3 separate regions of the Homo sapiens genome follow, and regions 1 and 2 are each linked to region 3. The links are contacts of gene promoters, found by promoter capture Hi-C in human tissues and cell types (Jung and others, 2019). All regions are on one chromosome and are shown on one strand. The core of a region is centred on a gene start or on the middle of the fragment in contact, and the rest is flanking DNA. Distances in the headings are between cores, read along the strand shown.

Region 1 (3,418 bases), core at 1-2,500, 1.5 Mb before region 3:
ATCTGGGCGCGGGCAGCTTCCTCCGGCAAGGGGATATAAATTCGTTTTTCAAACCTAGAGAGCCCAGCACACGGCAGGAGTTGACAGCGGATGATGGAATGGTATTCACGGAAGGGGAGGCACGAAGATTTGAGTGAAACGGACGCATTTCATGGGCCAGTGATGCTGGCGGCACATCCTCAACAAGCCAGCCTCACAAAGGGCTCTGCTTGGCAGGCAGACGGGAAGACTCCAGGGAAAAGGGGCCAGGCTGCACCCGGGCTGCCAGCAGCAGGCGGACCGTGACCATGGTGGGAGGAAGCCTCCAGCCCTGGCTTCTCCTGGGGAAGACTCACCTCCTCCTGATGGCCGAATCCAACACCCATGGGATGTTTGTGGCTCCAAGAACCAGAGTCCCATCATTGTTATTCCCCACCCCTGTGGAGAAAGGGAGACAAAGACTCAGACTCTGGACACCTGCACGGGTCAGTTGAAACCTGGGGACAGACCCCGGGGGCTTTGTGTGTCAGCAATTGAAGCCATCCCTGTGCCACCCACCACTGGCAGGGTCCCAAGTGAGATTAAACCACATCTTGGTCTGGCTGTGCCAGGTGAGACCTATGGCACTGCCTGCCATGGGAGGGGTGGAGTGGCCCGTGAGGCAGAGGCCTCAGGCACCTCTTGGGAATTGAAGTCCACCCGTGCCCTGAGGGGCTGGAGCTGGGGAGTGCCTCTCCGAGGCTGAGAACAACCAAATCCAGCCGCAGCTCAGAATAAAGCCCAGGGTTGGCTTCAGGTGCAACAAGAACCAAGGGGGCCCTGGGCCCGGCACACACCCTGCATCTGGACCAAGAACTCCGTTTTGATCCTCCGGGCGGCCTCACTCTCATTTTCATTTCGGGACCCGCAGAGGGAATCCACCTCATCGATGAAGATGATGGAGGGCTTGTGCTGCCTGGCCAGCTCAAACAGGTTCTTGACCAGCCTGTGAAGGTGAGAAAGGGGGTGAGGACAAGACGTTCACGTCCGTGCCCGCCTGGGCTCCCGGCACTTCCCTCTTCTCACCCTTCCCACAGGGAGGCGCAGGCCACGGTCATGCCGGAATTGCGGAAAACGTGGTGGTGAGGAGCCCTCGGGCCACACTGCACCAAGAGGAGGAGCACACCTTGGTGTCAGCCCCAAACGCAGAGCCTCAATCCCAGGAGCCCCATGCGCTAGCTCTGCACTTACAACACGTCAGTCCCCTTCTTCCGAGCCCGTCTCATCACACGCAAAACAGGAGTCAGTGTGGGGAACCATGTCCCCCACACACTGCCCCAACAGGGACCGCAACCCAGACCCCAAAAATATCCTCACTTCCTTTCCCTTCTCTTGTGGAGCACTTCACCTCTCCCAGGTCCCTTCCACCTTCACTTGTCTTTGTTGGGACTGTGTCCCAGCCGATAAGCTAGCGACACACTGCTCTTGGGTACCCTCCCTGAAAACCAAACCACTCCTCTGAGAGGTGACTCCACAGGGTGGGCCGCTGGGTCACTAGCAGTGCCGGGGCTGCTGGCAGAGCATGGCCTGGTGGCCGACTTACTTTTCACTCTCCCCCAGCCACTTGGACATCAGATCTGAGGAGGACACAGAGAAGAAGGTGGAGTTGTTGGCCTCTGTTGCCACGGCTTTGGCCAGGTAGGATTTCCCTGTGCCAGGGGGTCCGAACAGCAGAATCCCCCGCCAGGGGGTGCGCTTGCCTGCAACAGAGAACCACAGAAGTTAGGCCTCCTGACTGGGGAAAGGAATAGGAAAAGCAGAGGGTCTCGAGTCCCATACATACAGTAAAACAGGGCATTCTGTGAAACAACGGACTCTACTGGCAAACAAGTGATGGGAGCTACATTCCCTGCTGTGCCCTGTGCTATGACCCCATGACCTTGCACAGTGCCCCTGCTATGACCCCATGACCTTGCACAGTGACACCGGCTGGCACTGCTTCCTGATCCTGCCCCCACCCTGTGACGTGATCGTCATCTCATAGCTCCAGCCACAGCAGTGTTGTGGACACCAGCGAGCAGCCAGGCCTGGCCCTCTGCAGGCCCCGGGGGCTGAGTCGCCACTGACTCCCGGGTGCCTCGGAGTGCCAGCCCTGCGGAAGCCTGGAATTTTTACATTGGGGTTTGAAATGGCTCAACTCTCACCTGTGAACAAGTGTGGGAATTTGATTGGCAAAATGACAGCTTCTTTGAGGGCCTCCTTGGCCCCCTCCAGCCCGGCCACGTCGTTCCACCGTATGTTGGGCTTCTCCATCACGACGGCACCTGCGAGAGGGAGGCCGGCCCGGGCCCGGGCCCGGCCAAGGGGCATGAGCCAACCCAGCAGCGGACCCACTCTCATCCCCTGCCGCTGCCACAGGGCCGCGAGCCACTTACCCATCAGCTGTTCTTGCAGTTTCTTTTTCTCCGGATTATCCCCTTCACTGTCACTGTCACTGCTGGGAAGGGAGACGGAAAGTCACAAGCTGGCCCTTCAGCCTGGAGCACAGAGGTGCTCCCAGCAAGTCCAGGCTCCGCTGCCTGCACACTGGTTAAGGAACGAAGCCTTCCTGGCTTAACAGTGCCGTGTGACTCAAGCAAGTACTTCAGGGACATTTGGGCCAATGCTCTCAGCAGCTCACTTCAGGACCCCCCCAGCAAACACTCCTATAACCCGCCCTGTTTCTTCGCGGAGCAGATGGGAATCCGGGTCGGCCCTCTCCTGAAGGCCGTAAGGGAAATGTGCTTCAGCTGGACTTAAAGAGCAGCCCAGGCCAGGTGCGGTGACTCACACCTCATACTCTGGGAGGCCACCTGCAGTGGCTCTCACAGCCCAGGCTGGGTGCGGTGGCTCACCCCTGTAATCCCAGCACTCTGGGAGGCTGAGGCGGGAGGATCGCTTGAGCCCAGGAGTTTGAGACCAGCCTGGGAAACAGCGAGATCTTGTCTCTACAAAAAACACAAAATTAGCCAAGCATGGTGGCACGCACCTATGGTGCCAGCTACTTGGGAGGCAGAGGTTGCAGTTAACCAAGATCGCACCACTGCACTCCAGCCTGGGAGACAGTGAAGCCCTGTCTGGGGGAAAAAAAAAAAAAAAAGCCAGTCAAACAATGCAGCTGCCAGAAGCTTCTTTTTTTTTTTTTTTTTTTTTTGAGATGGTGCCCAGGTTGGAGTGCGATGGCACAATCTCCATCTCAGCTCACTGCAATCTCCGCCTCCCGGGTTCAAGTAATTCTCTGAATTCTCTGGCGTCAGCCTCCCGAGTAGCTGGGATTACAGGCACATGCCACAATGCCTGGCTAATTTTTTTTTTAAGACAGAGTCGCACTCAGTCGCCCAGGCTGGAGTGTAGTGGCTCGATCTCGGCTCACTGCAAGCTCCGCCTCCCGGGTTCACGCCATTCTCCTGCCTCAGCCTCC
Region 2 (3,197 bases), core at 29-2,528, 1.1 Mb before region 3:
TTGGGAGGCCAAGGCGGGGGATCATCTGAGGTCAGGAGTTCGAGACCAGCCTGGCCAACATGGCTAAACCCTGTCTCTACTAAAAATACAAAAATTAACTGGGTGTGGTGATAGGCATCTGTAATCGCAGCTACTCAGGAGGCTGGGGCAGGAGAATCACTTGAACCTGGGAGGTGGAGGTTGCAGTGAGCCAAGATCATGCCACTGCACTCCAGCCTGGGCAGCAGAGTGAGACTCCATCTCAAAAAAAAAAAAGGCAAAGAATCTGAATAGACACTTCTCTAATGAAGATTTACAAATGGGCAATGAACTCATAAAAAGATCTTCAACATCACTAGTCATGAGTGAAGTGCAAATCAAATCACAATGAGATACCCCTTCACACCCATTAGGGTGGCTATGTGAAAGCTGATCAAACAAATTTGGTCATTTTTGTCATACCCACCTAAGAGTTGAGAGGCCAGGGAAACAAAGCACGCAGTGCACATAATATTGCCCCAAAAGTATAATTCCCTACAAGCCCAGCTGCTGAAACTCCCTATTGTGACCTAAAACCAAGAAATTAAAAAAAAATAAAATAAAAAAGAAATTTAAAAAAGTAACCTAAAACCAGTTTTATCTTAGCTACTGAAACAAACTTGCTGCAACTCTAAGACTAGTTTTACCCACCACTGTCACTCCTCAGAGCTTGTCAGCTGCTCAGAACTTTACAGTGCCAATGAACTTTCTTTCTGGAACAGTATGTAACATTTCTCCTTTTTATAAAATCTCCAAACTTCTTCCTCTTCTTCTTCTTTTTTGTTTTTGAGACAGAGTCTCGCCCTGTCACCCAGGCTGGAGTGCAGTGGCCTGATCTCAGCTCACTGCAACCTCTACCTCCTGGGTTCAAGTGATTCTCCTGCCTCCAGAGTAGCTGGGATTACAGGTGTGCACAACCACACCTGGCTAATTTTTGTATTTTTAGTAGACATGGGTTTTCACCATGTTGGCCAGGCTGGTCTCGAACTCCTGACCTCAAGTGATCTGCCTGCCTCAGGCGTGAGCCACCGTGCCCGGCCAAACCTCTAAACTTATCTTTGTTCTTCAGACATATGGAAGACCACCCTGTCTGTGTATGCCCTGAATTGCAATTCTTGCTTCTGCAAAATGTTTTAAATTTAGAGATTTGTCCTTATATTTTATTTGATTTTGACATATGTGGTGTCAGAAGTGGGATTCCAAACCTGACTCACCTTGGGAAAAATCATCGGCCCTTGGAACTATGACATAAGGTACTCACATTGAGGGCCTTTGAGCACCCTCTCTCCCACGAGTCAGCTAGGTGTTCCCTGGTGAGTCTCCTGGATGGCACTCCTGCTTTGGGTAAAGTTCTGTTTTGTTTGGGATTTGCTTAGAGAAGGGTCTTTCCTCCTCTTATTTGGAGGGGGGTCTCTCTCTGGTTGGGAGATCATCTGTTGGGGAGGACTCTTTTCCTCCTGGCAGACCTCAGCTGTGAGGTCTGAGTGAAGAGATATTTTTCCTCCAGGTTGAGGCCTGGGTGAAAGAATTTTTCCTTTTCCCTTCAGTTGGGAAAGGCAGCTGATCGTCCTCTTGGTAAGTACATACTTTATTTTCCATCAGCACTTGTGTTTATTTGGCTTTTGCATATTCAACACTTGCATTTAATTGGCTTTTGTATATTCAACATTAAACTGAGTCACCTAGATAAGTTTAATTACAAATGGGCTCTCAAAGTTCAAAGACATGCCAAGATATATTTTGAGATTCCAGCTGGTAACATGTTCAAACATTACAGGGATCATGCAGTCTGTTGTTCTTAAAACTAAACTAAAAGACCATGGCAATAAAATCATACATTCCAAATAAGACTCATATCTCAAGGGATATCTTTAGGCTAAAAAAACCAAACCCAACCCGGACTCAAAGACTGACTAGCTATAAAATACTATCTCAAAGTTGGTTGAGACTCTCCTCTTTGGAGCTTGCCCCTCCCCTTCTTAGAATTCCTTCTTACTCTCTTGCTCTAAGCTAACTCTCTTTTTCCAAAACTCCTCAGCTAGGCTGGCATGCTGACAATTTAAGTAAAAAACACGTAAAAACTAGCAGATATTTTAAAAAATATTATTTTGACCTTCGTGCTGTTTCTTAAAAGCAAAAAATAAAATTCTCATATAAAAGACCCCCTTTCCATACTAAAAGGAATGAGGAGATTCTTATCTTAAAGGGCAAAAAATTGAGACCAAGACAATACTTTACAGACACTGTTAAAAAAAAAATATCTTGGCCGGGTGCGGTGGCTCACGCCTGTAATCCCAGCACTTTGGGAGGCCAAGGAGGGCAGATCACGAGGTAAGGAGATTGAGACCATCCTGGCTGACATGGTGAAACCCCATCTCTACTAAAAAACACAAAAAATTAGCCAGTGCGTGGTGGCAGGCACCTGTAGTCCCAGCTACTCGGGAGGCTGAGGCAGGAGAATGGTGTGAACCCAGGAGGCGGAGCTTGCAGGGAGCCAAGACTGCGCCACTGCACTCCAGCCTGGGTGACAGAGCGAGACTCTGTCTCAAAAAAAAAAAAAAAAAATTCTCAGATTCAGGTTGCAGTGAGCTTTAATCATGCCACTGCATTCCAGCCTGGGTGACAAGGTAAGACCCTGTCTCAAAAAATAAAAATAATAAAATAAAATAAAGAAAAAAAAGAAAAAAAGAGAAATAAAAAATAAAAATAAGAATATAAATATAAATAAGGCCAGGCATAGTGGCTCACACCTGTAATCCCAGCCCTTTGGGAGACTGAGGCAGGCTGATTGCTTGAGCCCAGGAGTTTGAAACCAGTCTGGGCAACATGGCACAATCCTGTCTCTACAAAAAACACAAAAATTAGCTGGGTGTGGTGGCATATGCCCGTAGTCCCAGCTACTCGGGAGTCTAAGGTGGGAGGACTGCTTGAACTCCAGGAGGTGGAGGTTCCAGTGAGCTGACATTGTGCCACTGCACTTCAGCCTGGGTGACAGTCAGACCCTGTCTCAAAAAAAAAAAAAAAAATTAAAAATTAAATAAATGAAATAAAATTTCTCAGATTCATATTTCAGAGGCTTGACTTTTGCAGTATCTTGCTACTTGTGATTTATAGGTCATACATCACTGCATTTAGCATTTTCTCCCCTTAAAAAGGCCTGAGATGATAACTCTCTCCTT
Region 3 (3,199 bases), core at 632-3,131:
CCAAATAAAAACCTTACTTTTTGTTTAATTTGTTTTGCCAAACAAACACAGTGAAAACTTTAGTCTGACTAATTGTACAGAAAATAGAATTTGTAACCAGTAGCAAACAAAACAGGATAAACCTAAGTCCCTGGCAAGCTGGATCTCCATCAGCAGGTCATCCAGATCCCCTTGTAAATGGCCTCCTGGGAAAATAAGTCCTAGGAGGCAGAGGCACAGATTTACCAGTCCCCATCAGAATCACAGGCTGCACCTGGGAAGGAAAAGCATGAAAAGGAGGAGAACTGATGTTACTTGAATCTCTTATCACTACACACATTAGAGTTGTCTGACTGCTGACCAACCTTAAGGTATGGTTTTCCCAAACCTATAGTCCCTGGACATCCCACCTGCATCCCTAGAGGGTAAGTTTCAAGTTCAGTGGTTCTGAAGCCTCTGCTTAACCAGAATCTGCAACAATAACTGGGGAGGAAGGGTAGACAAAGTCATAATTGCTGGTGTCACCAGGGCAGAGTCTAAGGCCCCAGCTTCCACTTCAGGAGGAAACAATTGAGGATGCCAGGTCACCAGCAAGAGAGTCCAGCTGCCTTAAGCCTCAGTACTGTCAACCAGTGCCCAGGAGTATAGAGGAGTTCAACAATGGCCTGCGGTCCCCTGGCTGGATGGGGTCTGGGAGTCCAGCAGGCTGCCGGGGCACCAGTTCACATTCCGTGCTTCTTGCGGATGACAGCCATGGCAAGCAGCCGATCCTTCTCACGCAGTTCTTCGCGCAGCTTGGCCTCAGTGAGACGCAGGTGGCGAATGCTGCCTTTCATCTCTTTCATCTTCACTTCCATCAGAGCCAGGATGTCCCGCTGCTCATTCAGCTTGCGCAGGAGCTCCTCCTCCGTGGTGCCTGACGACAAGGAGTACGAATGGTCGGAGCCAGTATCAGGGAAGCCCTCTTCCCCTACCACCACCAACTGGGGGCCCATAGGGCACTCGGCAGCCTCCAGCCCTGCGGTAGCAGCCTGTAACTCCGACGCGGCGGCCGCAGCGGCTGCGCCCTCTGCGGCTGCAAACTCCACTTGCACTGTGAGATCGATGGGCTTCACGTCTTCTCCAGTGGGAGTGATGGGCGCCGGCTGTACGGATCCCGGAGCCTGACTGCTGTCTACAGTGGCCTGAAGGGTGAGAAGCACGGCCGCGGAAGCAGATACCAGGTTCGGCTGCAGCTGGGCAGTCTGGGCAGTGGAGGCAGAGGGTGAGGACTGCTGCTGCTGCTGCTGCTGCTGCTGCTGTTGCTGCTGCTGCTGCTGTTGCTGCTGTTGCTGCTGCTGCTGCTGTTGCTGCTGCTGCCTGCGGCGGGCGGCCGCGGCCCCAGCGGGTCTGCGCGCTACTTTGCGCTCATTGACGCCGCGCAGCGGGAAGATGGTGGGGACGCGTACCGTGTAGGTCTTGCGGCCGCCCTGGAAGTGAACGCTGCAGAGACGGTGGCCTGTGGTGGGCTGGAAGGTGGAGAAGCACCCACTGACGCCGGCACGCGACACGTTCTTGAGCCAGAGGCGCCGCAACTCAGCGTCCTTTGGAAACGTGTAGAAGTGCAGCGCCTTGTCCCGGTGCGAGTTGTTGTAGCAGCCTGGCACGCAGCACGTAAAGCCAGGCATGGCTGCGCCGCGCGGCCCGGCCCGGCCCACCGGCCTCCTGCGCTCTTCGACGGCCCAGTGGCTACGCCGCCGCCCGCCCCTCGACGGGCGGCGCCGCGCGAGGCCTTGGGTGGTATCCCACCACTGCCGCTCGGCGCAGCCGGCCCGCCCGGCGCCCCGTGCCCAGAATACGCTTCCTGCCGGCCCGCGCCGCGCCGCCCGCCTGGCTGCCCGCCTGCGCTCGGGAGTGGGCCCCGGGGACGCCGCGAAGGACCGCCTGAGAAAGAGACTACGCCCCCCACAATGCCCCGCGCCAGAAGCGGCTCACTTCCGGGGCGGGTGTGTGCGGATTCCTGCCGCCTTCCAAGGCACTGCGATAGCCTCCGAAGAGCAGATTCTTTCCCCAGCCCGTCTTGTCCCCGGCGGGCGAGAGAGGCGTATTAGGTTGGAACGCTGTCGCCTGGACTGCTCCTCACGAGGACCCGAATCCTGATAGGGGCGTGGAGCGGGGCGGTGCGCGCCTCACCGGTGCGCAAGCGCGGTGGGTATATGCCCACGGAGACTACAAATCCCGTGATGCCTCGCGCTGAACTAGGCGCCTTCCCTCCGAAGCGCCGCCTAAGGGAAAGATCGAGTTACTGCGGACCAGGATTCGGGCGAGGTTGTGCTGTTTGCCAGAACCAGTTCCCCAGCCCCGAGCCCCTTTGAGTCGACGGCATTGCTGCAGCAGAGGGAGACGAAACCTGGGCCTCGGCGCCCCGAAGGGTCTCAGGAGCCCCTTTCTTTGCGTTGGGGACTCTCTCCTGATTCAGCTGCTGCCTGCGTTGACTAACTGATCTAAACAAAGTCTCCAGTAGACGCCTACTATGTGGCTGACACGGTGCCGGGAGTTTGCGGGAGTCAGACCGACTGGGCTCCTCTCTTGGAGCCTGACTACCTAGACGGATAAGCGTCTGTCTTTTGGATAATAGATCTGAATGCACGCGAATGGATGTCTACTCACAAATAGTAATCGCTCCAAAGGAATTAACAGGAGAGCAGAGAAATGGGGGGGAGGTGGTGGGGGCCAGGAATAAAAAAACGAACGAAAGCTTGGGTAGGGAGAAGTAGCCAATTCTTGTCCCAGGAACCAGTCTGTAAGGCCACATGGCAGAAAAGAGCTAGGCTCCGCCATTAAAGAGCCTGGAAAGGGGTGGCCCGGGTAGGGCCAAGCGTAGGAAAATACCAAACTGGGACATGTTAAGGATTTGGGGTTTTATTCTGCAGGCCACTGAGAGCTATTAAAGGATTTTATGGGAAAGGATTTGCATTGTAACAATACACCTCCCCCCACCTCAACTTATTTGAGGGAATCTTTTTTTTTTTTTTTTTTTTTTTTTTTTGTAAAGGAGTCTCACTGTGTCGCCAGACTGGAGTGCAATGGTGAGATCTCGGCTCACCGCAACCTCCGCCTCCTGGGTTCAAGCAATTCTCCTGCCTCAGCCTCCGGAGTAGCTGGGACTACAGGCGCATGCCACCATGCCCGGCTAATATATATATATATATATATATATATATATATATATGTATTTTGT

What was found. Contacts are between HindIII fragments. The study calls those that stand out against the background at their distance.
Region 1: a contact is called between a fragment that was not itself captured here and the fragment with the promoter of THAP11 in region 3, in 1 of the 25 tissues and cell types used here (adrenal gland).
Region 2: a fragment that was not itself captured here is called in contact with the fragment with the promoter of THAP11 in region 3 in 1 of the 25 tissues and cell types used here (stomach).

The regions. Positions count from the first base shown.
Region 1 is chr16:69,317,687-69,321,104 of GRCh38, reverse strand. It overlaps VPS4A (vacuolar protein sorting 4 homolog A), which reads right to left. Exons shown (of 11, transcript NM_013245.3): 4 at 2,394-2,455; 5 at 2,163-2,282; 6 at 1,562-1,718; 7 at 816-964; 8 at 336-417; 9 at 1-54. Among named protein-coding and RNA genes, the nearest start is that of VPS4A, 8.0 kb to the right of the region's middle. The HindIII fragment of the contact is 4,362 bases long and covers 1-3,418 here.
Region 2 is chr16:68,942,750-68,945,946 of GRCh38, reverse strand. The region is part of intron 14 of TANGO6 (transport and golgi organization 6 homolog); the gene reads right to left. Among named protein-coding and RNA genes, the nearest start is that of TANGO6, 100 kb to the right of the region's middle. The HindIII fragment of the contact is 7,830 bases long and covers 1-3,197 here.
Region 3 is chr16:67,841,002-67,844,200 of GRCh38, reverse strand. It overlaps THAP11 (THAP domain containing 11), which reads right to left and starts at 1,881. Exons shown (of 1, transcript NM_020457.3): 1 at 6-1,881. The coding sequence starts at 1,646. The coding sequence ends at 702. The region is part of intron 1 of CENPT (centromere protein T); the gene reads left to right. RefSeq lists enhancers at 558-607, 1,048-1,207, 919-1,665, 2,118-2,167 and a silencer at 1,688-1,867. The HindIII fragment of the contact is 20,232 bases long and covers 1-3,199 here.